3 separate regions of the Homo sapiens genome follow, and all the other regions are linked to region 2. Evidence: promoter capture Hi-C in 16 types of primary human blood cells and fetal thymus (Javierre and others, 2016). All regions are on one chromosome and are shown on one strand. Each heading gives the region's core, a stretch centred on a gene start or on the middle of the fragment in contact. The rest is flanking DNA. Distances are from core to core; before and after follow the strand shown. Region 1 holds the start of JPT1 (Jupiter microtubule associated homolog 1). Region 2 has its middle 5.8 kb from the start of MIR3678. Region 3 holds the start of KCTD2 (potassium channel tetramerization domain containing 2).

Region 1 (4,549 bases), core at 226-2,725, 260 kb before region 2:
TATGGCTATTTCACGTGTCTTCTTAGCCCCACAAAATGGCTCCCTTTGTGCCACTTGGCCAGGACCCCGAGGGTAGCCACACATGAATGCAGGTCATAATCGATGTAAAATACATGCTCAAAAAAGTGATTTAAGCTTCTTCCAAGCCTTGAAGAGGATCCCAGACATAACTGTAACCCACCTTAAAGAACAGTGTGCAATTAGCTGAGACAATGTGGACACCTTCCACAGAATCCAAACCCTTCCACCAAGTAAGTTAAGCAAGGACTTGGAAAAGGGTTCCTGTCCAAACACTGTACCCAGTGCCCCAAGCCCAAAAAGCAGTGGGAAGAAGGGCAAGAAAAATCCCCCGCTTCCCAGGTAGCGCTACCACGTTAGAGACAATGGATGTCTCCGGCCCCGCCCAAGAACAAGAAACCTCCTCCTGCAAGGGAACCAGGGCCAGGGATGAACTCACTGGGCAAACGTCAAAGGAGGAAGCGAAGGTAGGATGCAAAGGCCACGGTCCGAAGGTTTAAGCGCAGAAAACCCACTCGGGTTGGCTCGTTCCCCGCGCCCGCCCCCGCCCCCCGCCTTAGAAATGAGCGCAGGGATGGGGAGAAGGGGTCTTTCCTTTGTTAGGAAGGGGAGACACTTGGAAGAGGGGAGGCACTTCGAAGAGGGGAAGAACGATTGGGTCCTCAATGGGGGGTGAAGGGTCGCGATGACCAGCCCCGCTCGACCACACATGCACCTGTCAGGTAGGTCCGAATAAGGAGTGGGGGCACGGCGAGGGTAAGGAGCCCGCCGGACCTGATCGATCCGGTCTCCGGATCCAATGGCTGCGCGCGAGAGCGAGACCAACCGCATGCCACGGGGGAGAGACAGGAGCGCGTGGCCCATCAATGGGACAATAGGACCTGACCATGCATGGGGCCCTAAAGGATCCCCGGGCACCTGGGGGGCCAAGCCCACCACCCTGGGGATGCACCAGCCGGGATGCACACAGGAGAAAGCGAAGCCCTCCCCGAAGGTTCCGATTAACGAAAACCGGCCGTGCTCCGAGGGGCGACCAGCCCCGGCCTCCTCAGCCCCTGACTCCGTGGAAGGAATGAATGGAGAGCAGCAGGGACCCGGGTGGGGCCGGCGCGCAGGGCTCGCCAGGCGGCACAAAGGCGGCGCCGACGGCAGAACCCCGCCACCCGCCCCGGCGCGAGCACAGCGCACGGGGCTCGTTACCCGCAACGACCGGCGCGAGGCCCCGCCGGCAGCGGCCCTCCCAGCCCCTCAGCCCCGCGCGGCTCGGGCGCGACCCGGTCGCCTCACCGGGAGCTATTCCTGCTGTTGGGGTCGACTCCCTTGAAGGTGGTGGTTGTGGTCATGGCGCCGAGGAGCGAGGTAGGCTGGCGCCGGAGCAGAACGCTCAAAGGGTCGGACCCGAGGGGCGCTGGGAAACTCCACACCCAACAGCCGACCACCGCTGCAGGAGCCGCCGCTGCCGCCTGTCCGGCCGATCGACGCCTTTATAGGGTTTTCAACCCCCGCCCCCTAACCCGCCGGCATTGGCCGATTCAAATGAATTCTTTCATTCCTATTGGCTCTCTGGAGTGCCAAGCACCATGCGGCATTACGATGGGCTGTGGCGGCCACGGCTCAGCCTAAGCCCGCCCCCTTCCTGGACTGGGAAGGCCTTGGGACTCTCTCCCCTCCCCCACCCCAAAATCTCGGCGATGATTGGACGGAAGGCGAATCTACCTCGCGCTGGGTGGAAGTCGTGCTGGCTGTCACTGTAAAACGTTACCTGACAGAGGGGGAAGCTCTTTCTTGGGGAGTTACAACCTCGGCAAGCAGAAGGGAGATTTGTCACTGTTACTGTTCTCTCATTTGCTTTACTGATGGTGGGATAGTAAGGGCATCCTCCTTAAAGGATGAAAAGTACTGCAACAAGTTGACATTTATCTGTTGAATACCTACTGTGTGTCCCATTTAGAAACCTAATAGTCTCAAAGCAGCCGCACAATGAGTCAGCAACAGAGAGCGCACCAAGATGATCCCTTTTAAAAGGACTGGAAATTCCTTACATTTTAATGTTACTGTTTAGTTGTAATGGGTGGTGCATGTACTGGACCAAAATTACAGTCGCTCCTATTTGGGGGCCTATTCTAAGGCTGGTTAATGCCTGGCACCAGGAATGGACTCATTCCCTGCTACCAAGACTATGGAAGCAGCTCAGGCCTCTGCAGCTGTTTATAACCCTTAAGTCATGACTCTTCCACCTGTCTGGGTAAATCTATCCATGCGACAAATGCAGACACACTTGGAGGATTCAGGAATGATGGTTTACAAGATCATAATAGGAAAGCCTTGGGCAAAAGAGGGCAGGCCCTTCTCATGTCTTGCATATTTCCTCAAGGCAGATGTCTTTGCTTGTCTCAATATTTCCATAATAATTGAACCACATTCCTCTTTGCAAAGCCACCTTTCAGGTAGTTGGAAGTTTGTATTCTGGGCAGTCTAGGTTAACCACCCTCCCCCCCCGGGCTTTCATGAAAAGCCAGTGAGAAGTTCTGTTCTAGAAAGCACGGATGATGCATTTATGTGCTTACCACAACAGCACGAAGCGCACCACTTGTTTGTGTTAGAATCTTCCCTTCTTTTTTTCCTTTCTTTTTTTTTTTTGTTTTTGAAGTGGAGTTTCGCTCTTGTCACCCAGGCTAGAGTGCAATGGCGCTCAATGCAACCTCCACCTCCCAGGTTCAAGCGATTCTCCTGCCTCAGCCTCCGTAATAGCTGGAACTACAGGCGTGCGCCACCACCCCTGACTAATTTTTGTATTTTTAGTAGAGACGGCGTTTCACCATATTGGCCAGGCTGGTCTCAAACTCCTGACCTCAGGTGATCCATGCTCCTTGGCCTCCCAAAGTGCTGGGATTACAGGTGTAAGCCACCGCATCTAGCCAAAATCTTAGCTTTTTTTTTTTTTTTTTGAGACAGAGTCTTGCTCTGTCGCCCAGGCTGGAGTGCAGTGGTGGCGCGATCTCTGCTCACTTGCAGCCTCCACCTCCCGGGTTCAAGCGATTCTCCTGCCTCAGCCTCCCGAGTAGCTAGGACTACAGGTGCGTGCCATCATGCCCGGCTAATTTTTTGTAGTTTATTAGTAGAGATGGAGTTTCACCATGTTAGCCAGCATGGTCTCAATCTCCTGACCTCGTGATCCACCCACCTTGGCTTCCCAAAGTGCTGGGATTACAGGTGTGAACCACCGCACGCCCAGCCAATCTTCCCATTCTTTCTTTTTTTGTTGTTGTTGTTTTCGTTTTTTTGAGACAGAGTCTCGCTCTGTCGCCCAGGCTGGAGTGCGGTGGCATAATCTCGGTTCACTGCAAGCTCCGCCTCCCGGGTTCACGCCATTCTCCTGCCTCAGCCTCCCAAGTAGCTGGGACTACAGGCGCCCACCACCATGCCTGGCTAATTTTTGTATTTTTAGTAGAGATGGGGTTTCACCGTGTTAGCCAGGATGGTCTAGATCTCCTGACCTCGTGATCCGCCCACCTCGGCCTACCAAAGTGCTGGGATTACAGCATGAGCCACCGCACCTGGCCAATCTTCCCATTCTTTTTTTTTTTTTTTTTTTTTTTTTTTGAGATAGAGTCTCGCTCTGTCGCCCAGGCTGGAGTGCAGTGGCACAATCTCGGCTCACTGCAAGCTCCACCTCCCACGTTCATGCCATTCCCATGCCTCAGCCTCCTGAGTAGCTGGGACTACAGGCGCCTGCCACCACGCCCGGCTAATTTTTTTGTATTTTTTTTAGTAGAGACGGGGTTTCACCATGTTAGCCAGGATGGTCTCGATCTCCTGACCTCGTGATCCGCCCACCTCGGCCTCCCAAAGTGCTAGGATTACAGGCGTGAGCCACTGCGCCCGGCCCAATCTTCCCACTCTTAAAGGCTGAGCCTATATTTCCAAAATCTTAAAAGAAAAAAAAATCAGACCAATCTAGCCAGTGAGCACGCCCTCCTCAGAAACCATATAATTATCAACTAGGAGGTAGTGGAGTATAGTGGTTGCTAGCTCAGACTCTCATGGGATAAATTTGGATTGGAATCTCGACCCTTACCTTTTCTAAGCACTAGTTTTCACCTTTCTGAAATAAACACACAATAGTACCTGGGGGTCTGTGGAGTTTTGGGGACTAAGTGACCTCATGGATGTAAACGGCTTGGCTCAATATACAAGTCATCAAAGTGATAGTCCATTTTATTATCAGACTTATTTAGAAAGCAATCACATACTTGTATGTTAAATGAGGGGTTTGGACTTGACTCGCATGGTCTTTTGGCTTACATTTTCAGGTTGTACTTATTTCCTTGCAGTCTAATAGAAGATAGCTTGGTGAGGCAATGCTACAATAGACTAGAAGTCAAAAGACCTAAGTTCTGGTTTTGCCTTTTCCCAATATAAGACACTGGTACATCATTTATGCCCTTGAGCCTCAATTTTCTTATCTATAAAATGGGATTGCAGGCTGGCACGGTGGCTCACGCCTGTAATCCCAGCACTTTGGGAGGCA
Region 2 (4,682 bases), core at 574-3,073:
GGCAGGTGGATCACTTGAAGTCAGGAGTTTGAGACCAGCCTAGCCAACATGGTGAAACCTCATCTCTACTAAAAATGCAAAAATTAGCCGGGCGTGGTGGCACATGCTTGTAACCCCAGCTACTCGGGAGGCTGAGGCAGGAGAATTGCTTGAACCCAGGAGGCGGAGGTTGCAGTAAGCAAAGATCATGCCACTGCACTCCAACCTGGGTGACAGAACCAGACTCCATCTCAAAAAAAAAAATAAATAAATAAATAAAAGAAAAGCTTAATGTACTCATTCATTCTCTTTGCCAACATTAACTAAGCATCTATTCTCTTTGTTTGTTTTTTTTTGTTTTTGAGACAGGGTCTCACTCTTGTCACCCAGGCTGGAGTGCAGTGGCGCAACCTCAGCTCACTGCAGCCTTGACTTCCCAGGCTCAGGTAATTCTCCCATCTGAGTCTCCCAAGTAGCCAGAACTACAGGCACATGCCGCCATGCCCAGCTAATTTTTTGTGTTATGTAAGTATGTATGTATGTACGTATGTATGTATGTATGTATGTATTGAGACAGGGTCTCACTCTGTTGCCCAGGCTGGAGTGCAGTGGCACGATCAGGGCTCACTGCAGCCTCAACCTCCTGGGCAAGAGATCCTCCTGCCTCAGCCCCCCAGTACCTGGGACAACAGTCATGCACCACCACGCTTGGCTAAATTTTTGTGTTTTTAGTAGAGATGGGTATCATCATGTTGGTTAGGTTGGTCTCAAACTCCTGGGCTCAGGCAATCTGCCCGCCTTGGCCTCCCAAAGTGCTAAGATTACAAGCGTGAGCCACCACGCCCAGCCTAGAGCATCTACTCTCTAGAGAGGAGGACAACCCTCCACAGAGTCTGCAGCCTGAAGGGGAAGACATGTCTCTGAGAATTTGACCAGGATAGTGCTGGTGGCTTTGGAAGCATACAGCAGGGGACCTGACCTCATCCACTATGAGGGAAGGCAGAGGAAGTGGGCTTTAAGCTGAGACCCTGGTTAGCCTGAGAGGAAGAAATGATACAGCAAGTGTGAAGGCCAGACAGTAAGCAAGGATGTAAGGAAGCCAATAGCTGGGACAAGGAAGGATGTGTGGCATGTGGGTAAAGCAGCTGAAGAGGCTCGTGAAGGGCCTTTGCTTTTCTCTCTCTCTCTCTCTCTCTTTTTTTGAGATAGGGTCTTGCTGTATTGCCCAGGCTGAAGTACAGTGGTGTGATCACAACTCACTGCAGCCTCAACCTCCTGAACTCAAACAATCCTCCTGCCACATAGCTGGGATCATAGGCATGCGCCATCACCATGCCTGACTAATTTTTTTTTTTTTTTTTTTGAGACAGAGTCTTGCTCTGTCACCCAGGCTGGAGTGAAGTGGCACCATCTTGGCTCACTGCAACCTCTGCCTCCCAGGTTGAAGCAATTCTCCTGCCTCAGCCTCCCCAATAGCTGGGACTACAGGCACGCACCACCACGCCTGGGTAATTTTCGTATTTTTAGTAGAGATGGGGGTATCACCATGTTGGCCAGGCTGCTCTCGAACTCCTGACCTCAGATGATCCACACACCTCGGCCTCCCAAAGTGCTGGGATTACAGGCATAGGCCACTGCACCCAGACTAATTTTTTTATTTTTTGTAGAGAAGAGGAGTCTGACTTTGTTGCTAGCCTGGTCTTGAACTCTTGATCCTCCCACCTCAGCATCCTAAAGTGCTGGGGTTACAGGCATGAGCCACTGCACCCACTTTTTCATTATTGCTAAAGACTTGAGACTTGACTCTGTGGAATACTGAAGTAGGAGTGGGCCATGGTCAAATTTTTATCTTCCAAATATTTTGTCACTCTGGCTGCAGAGTAGAAAACCAATTGGAACTAAGACATTCATCATCTACTGTCTCAAGTCCCTTACAAGGCTCTTAAAGATCTGGCCCTTCCAGCCAGTGCCACCTTCTCAGTCTCCAGTAACACATACTCCACCAATACTAACCCACTTGTGGTTTCCGGAAGGTGTCATGATCCTTTGAGTGTCCATATCTTTACACATGCAATTTCCTCTGTTCAGTTGGCTTTCTACCCTTCCACTAGGTCCCCAAGTCAGTTTTCTTCTTCAAAATTTCCATGGTAGGTCAGGCACAGTGGCTCACATCTCACTTTAGGAGGTGGAGGTGGGTGGATCAGTTGAGTCCAGGAGTTCAAGACCAACCTGGGCAACATGGTAAAACCCCACCTCTACTAAAAATGCAAAAATTAGCTGGGCAGGGTGGCAAACACCTCTAGTTGGGAGCTACTCAGGAGGCTGAGGTAGTAGGATCATCTGAGCCCGGGAGATGGAGGCTACAGTGAGGCATGATCGTGTCACTGCATTCAGCCTGGGCAACAGAGCAAGACCCTGTCTCAAAAAAAAAAAAAAAAAAATTCCCACCATACCTCCAATCTCATTGCATCATGAATCATTCACTCATTGTCCCCCAGCCCTCCCCGCTCGGTGGTCTACAAGCTCCCAAACAGACAGGGTCACCTTTTCACATTTGTATTCCCAGTACCCAGCACAGTGCATGCAGTGAATAAATGGATGGATGGATGGACGGATGAATAATAAAGGCTGACCAGAGACTGAAATGTAGCTGCTTTTCTGTGCTGTGGTGGTATTTAAAGCTAAGGAAGTGGGTGAGATCTCAGAAAAGAGTAGATGCCTAAGAGAACAGGAAAAAAAAAGTTAAGTATTTCCTTTTAAAATACACCATTGATAAAAACAGACATTGAGTATGTTCATGTAAAAGTATATGCATGGGAACCAGATTTGGAAGGGAACATTTAAAAGTAAAAATAATATGTGTTAAAATGGTAGGCTCGTGGGTGACTTTTTTTTAAGTCAACATTTGTTATATTGCCTTTTTGATAAATTTTTTTTTCTCACAGACACAGACTCAGAAACTTGAGACAACGTTGCCCAAGATCATTCCACACTGAGAAAAAAACACATTAGAGGCAGCAGTGTTTTGAATAGGTGCATGGCTAGTGTTAAATAATGGAAAGAAATTGGAACAAGAGGCAAGTTGTGAAGTAAAAGTCACACCCTGGTATGAAAACCTGTTGTCACTGTAGCGAAACTTGCTAATTACAGACCGGCTCCATCAGTAGCTTCACAATGCACAAAATCACCAAAAAAGTCTCTGTTTTCCTTGGGGGTTTTTAGTCGTCGGAAAGGGCTTCAGGCTTTGTTTTCTGTGAGTTACGGGGCTGCCACCTGCAGGTAAAATCTGGACATTGCCCTGAAATTGACCGAACCTTGGATACAAACCCGGCCTGACAGTGAGCCTCTTTCCCTTAGCACCTGGCTCAAGACCCTCTCAGGGTCATCCTGAGCCCATATTTCCAAGCTTCTCTTTAGGGGGAAAGCACTAGATACCCAGTAACAGCCAGTGACAGCCTAAAATTGGGCATTTGAAATTCTATGCTCCCTTGCCCAATTGATCTTGGAAGTTCTCATCTAGAATTTCCTTCACTTAAGTTGTGATCCAAGGCTGTGTACTCCTCTCAGGCTTCCAGTGTTCCCTCTGATGCTGAGTTTAGCAATGAGACCAAGTGCTGTGACCCCTCTCCAACATCCTGGCCACCTTTTCCTTCCTTCCTTCCTTCTTTCCTTCCTTCCTGCCTTCCCTCCCTCCCTCTTTCTTTCCTTCCTTCCTTCTTTCTTTTTTCTTTCTTTCCTTTCTTTTTCCTTTCATTTTCTTTTTTTCTCTTTCTTTCTTCATTTTCTTTCTTTCTCTCTCTTTCTCTCTTCCTTTCTTTACCTTCTTTCTTTCCTCTCTTTCTCTTTATCTCTCCCTCTTTCTCTCTTTCTCTCTCCCTCTTTCTCTCTTTCTCTCTCTCTCTTTTAGACAGAGTCCTGCTCTGTTGCCCAGGCTGGAGTACAGTGGCACAATCTTGACTCACTATAACCTCTGCCTCCTCGGTTCAAGTGATTCTCCTGCCTCAGCCTCCCAAGTAGCTGGGATTACAGGCGCCCGCCATCACACCCAGCTAATCTGTGTATTTTTAGTGGAGGTGGGGCTTCACCATGTTGGCCAGGCTGGTCTCGAACTCCTGACCTCAGGTGATCCACCTGCCTCGGCCTCCCAAAGTGCTGGGATTACAGGCGTGAGCCACCGCACCTGGCCTTCTTTCTTCCTCTTTTTTCTTTTCTTTTTTCTTCTTTCTCTTTCTTTCTTTCTCTCTTTCTTTTCCTTCCTTCCTTCCTTCCTCCCTTCCCTCCCTCCCTCCTTCCCTCCCTTCTTTCTTTTCCTTCCTTCCTTCCCTTCCCCCTTCTTCCTTCCTTCTTTTTTCTTTCTCCTTCCTTCCTTCCTCCCTCCCTCCGTCCCTCCCTCTCTCTCTCTCTTTCTTTCTTTCTTTCCTTCTCTTCTTTCTTTTCTCATGGTCTCACTCTGTTTCCCAGGCAGGATTGCAGTGGCACAATCTTGCCTCACTGCAGTCTCAACCTTCCCTGGGCTCAGGTGATCCTCCCACCTAAGCCCCCGAGAATAGCTGGGACTACAGGTGTGTACCACCACACCTGGCTAATTTTTGTATTTTTTGTAGAGATGGGGTTTCCCAGGTTGGTCTTGAATTCCTGGGCTCAAGCAGTCTTCCCACCTCAGGCTCCCAAAGTGCTGGGATTACAGGAGCCACTGTGCCTGG
Region 3 (4,565 bases), core at 862-3,361, 360 kb before region 2:
CATCACACGTTGGTAGGATCCGTGATGCCCCACAAGCCACAAAAACCAGCAAGTTTTTATTAGGGAGTTTCAAAAGGGGAGGGAGTATACGAATAGGTGTGGGTGACAGACATCAAGTACTTAACAGGGTAATAGAATATCACAAGGCAAGTGGAGGCAGGGTGAGATCACAAGACCACAGGACCAGAGCGAAATTAAAATTGCTAATGAAGTTTTGGGCACCATTGTCATTGATAACATCTTATCAGGAGACAGGGTTTTCAGATCAACCGGTCTGACCAAAATTTATTAGGTGGGAATTTCCTTTTCCTAATAAGCCTGGGATCGCTATGGGAGACTGGAGTTTATTTCACCCCTGCAGTCTCAACCATAAGAGACAGGTACGCCCCAGGGGGGCCAGTTCAGAGACCTACCCCTAGGTGCGCATTCTCTTTCTCAGGGATATCCCATGCTGAGAAAAAGAATTCAGCGATATTTCTCCCATTTGCTTTTGAAGGAAGAGAAATATGGCTCTGTTCTGCCCGGCTCACCGGCGGTCAGAGTTTAAGGTTCTCTCTTGTTCCCTGAACAATTGCTGTTATCCTGTTCTTTTTTCAGGGTGCCCACATTTCATATTGCTCAAACACACATGCTGTACAATTTTTGTAGTTAACACAATTATTACAGGGTCCTGGAACGATATACATCCTCAACTGACAGGATTAAGAGATTAAAGACAAGACAGGCATAGGAAATCAGAAGAGTATTGACTGGGGAAGTGATAAGTGTCCATGAAATCTCTACAATTTATGTTTAGAGATTGCAGTAAAGACAGGCATAAGAAATTACAAAAGTATTAATTTGGGGAACTAATAAATGTCCATAAAATCTTCACAATCCACGTTCTTCTGCCATGGTTTCAGCCGGTCTCTCTGTTTGGGGTCCCTGATTTCCCGCAACATCAGTGGAAAATGGAAGTCACAAATAACTTTGTGTGTGTGTGTGAGTGAGACGGAGTCTCGCACTGTCGCCTGGGCTGGAGTGTAGTGGCGTGGTCTCGGCTCACTGCAACCTCCGCCTCCCGGGTTCAAGCGATTCTCCTGCCTCAGCCTCCCGAGCAGCTGGGATTATAGGGGCCTTCCACCACGCCCAGCTAATTTTTTGTATTTTTAGTAGAGGCGGGGTTTCACTACGTTGGCCAGGCTGGTCTCGAACTCCTGACCTCGCGATTCGCCCGCCTTGGCCTCCTAAAATTCTGGGATTACAGGCGTGAGCCACCGCGCCCGGCGAAATTTTTTTTAATTCTTAAAAATCTATTGCTTAATCCCCAGCGCCTAGAACAGATCATGCGCATAGGAGGTGCTCAATGAATCTTTCTTGAATGAGTAACCGAACTCTGCACCCGAGGAGCCCTGAACGCTCTATACGTTCGAATCCTGGAAGCTGCCGAAGGGGAAGGGCGCAGCCCCGCAGCCAGCTGAGCGTCCCTCGGCAGGTTAACACTGTCTGCGTAATGTTTCCCCAGTCCCCCCACCAAACTATTGAAGTCTGCCGCGCTGGGAGCGGACTGCACGAGACACGGCTTGTGGCAGCGCCTACATCAGCGGCGCCTGGGACACAGCCGGGCCCCCCTGACCCCGCGCGCCAAGGAGGGCTGAGGAAGGGATCGCGGGGCGAGGAGCGGCAGCTACACAAGGGACACTCTGCCAGCGGGGCAAGCCGAGGGCCCAGCGTCCTTGACGGGGGCGTGACAAGGGTCGGCGTGAGGTTTGGAGAGGGCAGAGCAGAGGAGCCCTCCAGGGATCGGATCCAATGCCCCAAGCCCCACTCACCTTCACCGACCCTGGCTGCCCACGGTCCTCCGCAGCAAGTAACGGAAGTGGGTCACGGGAAGATCTTTCCTCAGCCAACCCCAAAGCCAAGGGGGTGGGCCTTGCTTCGCAGATCAGCCAATAGAGATGAGGGCTGGTTCCGGAAGTATCTTCCCGGGGGCGGGCACAGCGCCTCCCCCGCGCGGGTCCCCGGGCGCTGGTTGGGGGCGCTCCCGTCCCTCTCCCCTCTGCCCCACCCCCGCCGATGGGCCGGCCCGGCTCTCCCTGCCGAGAAATGGGCCGGCCCGGCTGCGCGCGGGCAGCAGCGGTGGCGGCGGCGGTCCAAGATGGCGGAACTGCAGCTGGACCCGGCGATGGCGGGGCTGGGAGGGGGCGGCGGGAGTGGGGTGGGCGACGGGGGTGGCCCAGTCCGCGGGCCCCCCAGCCCACGCCCGGCTGGCCCCACGCCCCGCGGGCACGGCCGCCCGGCTGCCGCCGTCGCGCAGCCGCTGGAGCCGGGTCCCGGACCACCCGAGCGGGCAGGGGGCGGCGGCGCGGCCCGCTGGGTCAGGCTGAACGTGGGAGGCACCTACTTCGTGACCACCAGACAGACCTTAGGCCGGGAGCCCAAGTCATTTCTCTGCCGCCTCTGCTGCCAGGAGGACCCGGAGCTGGACTCAGACAAGGTGTGCCCCGCCCTCGGGCGCGCCCCCGGGCCTTCGAACCCCCTGGTTTCTCGTAGATCGGTCCCCAGAGTCCTGAGACACGCTCCTCACAGGCAGCCCCCTCAGGCCGGGACCCCATCCTCCCCCTCCCTCCCACACTACTCGCAGGGGCCTCAGAGGGACCTCCCACTCCCCTTCTTCCATGCTGAGGCATACTCTGGCTTTCTCCCCGACCCCGCCCTTCGTTCTCTGAGACTCCTTCCCACACTGCGCCCACCTGCACCCACGAGAACGCACTCCACACCCCTTCTCCATATTCTCTGCCCCTGACATCCCACTGAGATCTGCATGAGTTTTCCCTGGCTCCTCTTCAGTCCCCCCACTGCCGGTGCCAGATGCATCCAGAACTGGGTCAGGGTTAGCTCAGGCATCCTTGTAGCTTTCTCAGACTCCCTCTCGGACCCCTCTGCCAAGTTGGGCTTCCACAGCTGCAGGAAGCGCTCCTTGTGATATCACACTGCTTTTCTATAGTCCTGGTCGCAGAACTTTTATCTGTTAACAGTCACTGGTTTAGGTCCATATTTAGATCAAATGCGTTTTTTGGAAAGAGGTTACTGTTTGCCGCTGCAAATCTAGGCTAAGACAGAAGGAAAATGAAAATTTTCCCGGGAAAATTTTGGGCAGGATGCATGGCTGCTAACCAAAGGGTTGAGAGGTGACAAGACACTTAAACCATTTCCAGTTTGAACTGTGTCAATTTCTTTTTAACTTTACGTATTCACCTTTAAGTTCTCAACTTAAAGGCACTGACCATAACTCACACCATCTTATATCCCATATAGCACTCAGCTGGTGACCTCAAAACAGAGCTGGAGTTGCGTAAACATTTGTTGTTTTCGTTTATTCCTCTTCTCTAAGAAATCTCAGATTGATGGAAACCTATCCTGCCCTAACTTTAAAGAGATTTCAAAACCCTTGCTTATAAAGGAATTATTTTTATCTACTCTATATCCTCCTTGTGGTAATAGAAGCCAGTTTCTTCTTGTTCCTTTTACTGTAAAGATGAGTAGGATTAAAGCTGCTCAGAGCCAAGTCCTGGCAGTACCGAGCTTCCTCTGGGCACAGAGCTGGGGTGTGTGAGATTACAGCTGGCAGTGCAAACTCCCACTGATGTTGGCCTTGAGCTCAGGAGCATTGCCAACTACACAGAGGTTTTCTTGGAATTAGGAATGCAGTTCAGAGGCAGTGGAAAAGTCAGAATGTCCATCTCAAGCAAAGATTTCAGTTACACAGCTACGGCATTTTCTCCCTTTCTTAATAACAAACACGCTACAGAAGAATGTTTGTCACTGTAATTATTGTCCAGGCAAAGATTGCAAATTCCAGCCAGTAAGTAAACGCCTAAATGAGTATGACTGTCTGTAACACCCTACCTAAGATGATCTTAATGTACAAGATACATAAAGCTATAGCTTTCTTACCAATAGTTTGTGACAAATGTGTAACAAAATTTGCCATCACTAAAGTCTTTTTTAGCTGATGGAATGAATTGTTGTCTTGGGGCGCTGACAAAGATGGTGAAATCCTGCCCTGCCTTTGTTTAAAATACTCCTCAAAGGTCCACAATGATACCCTTGTGTTTGGTTGGCAGGATGAGACAGGAGCCTATCTGATTGACAGGGACCCCACCTACTTTGGTCCTATCCTCAACTACCTCCGCCACGGGAAACTCATCATCACTAAGGAGTTGGCAGAAGAAGGTAAGCGCACTGTTTGCATTGGGGATTTTCAAAATGCAAGTAGAATCTTTAAAGTTGTTTTACAGATTTCAATTTTGTTTGACATTTTCATCAGGCGCATGTGCAGGTATAGTTTCAGGTTTATGAAACAGAGCAGAAACTACCAGTCTTGTCTGAGGGAGTCATGATTAAGGAAGCCTCCTTAGGCTTTGTTCAGCTTCCTGGGTGAGAAGGAAGATAGGTAGCTCCGCTTTGCAGATAACTTCAGGAGTTCTTTCCGAATCTCCAGAATTGTCACGATCCTTTTTTTACATTTGTTTGTGTGCTAGCAGTGAGTGTCTGTAGTCTGAAGAAGCAAGACATCTCTGACA

What was found. The method cuts DNA at HindIII sites, captures the fragments that hold promoters and counts their contacts. A CHiCAGO score of 5 or more calls a contact.
Region 1: the fragment with the promoter of JPT1 here is called in contact with a fragment that was not itself captured in region 2 in 1 of 17 cell types (fetal thymus); the score reaches 7.5 in fetal thymus.
Region 3: a contact is called between the fragment with the promoter of KCTD2 here and a fragment that was not itself captured in region 2, in 1 of 17 cell types (M2 macrophages). The highest score is 6.4, in M2 macrophages.

Annotation. Positions count from the first base shown.
Region 1 is chr17:75,153,037-75,157,585 of GRCh38, forward strand. It overlaps JPT1 (Jupiter microtubule associated homolog 1), which reads right to left and starts at 1,476. Exons shown (of 5, transcript NM_016185.4): 1 at 1,306-1,476. The coding sequence starts at 1,361. RefSeq lists a silencer at 1,072-1,311 and an enhancer at 1,964-2,559. The HindIII fragment of the contact is 22,783 bases long and covers 134-4,549 here.
Region 2 is chr17:75,409,528-75,414,209 of GRCh38, forward strand. No RefSeq gene overlaps it. Among named protein-coding and RNA genes, the nearest start is that of MIR3678, 5.8 kb to the left of the region's middle. RefSeq lists a silencer at 3,061-3,355. The HindIII fragment of the contact is 3,119 bases long and covers 265-3,383 here.
Region 3 is chr17:75,045,114-75,049,678 of GRCh38, forward strand. KCTD2 (potassium channel tetramerization domain containing 2) reads left to right here and starts at 2,112. Exons shown (of 6, transcript NM_015353.3): 1 at 2,112-2,476; 2 at 4,107-4,215. The coding sequence starts at 2,138. It overlaps ATP5PD (ATP synthase peripheral stalk subunit d), which reads right to left and starts at 1,856. Exons shown (of 6, transcript NM_006356.3): 1 at 1,812-1,856. RefSeq lists enhancers at 1,323-1,392, 1,331-1,916, 1,801-2,095 and a silencer at 1,793-2,222. The HindIII fragment of the contact is 5,200 bases long and covers 1-4,565 here.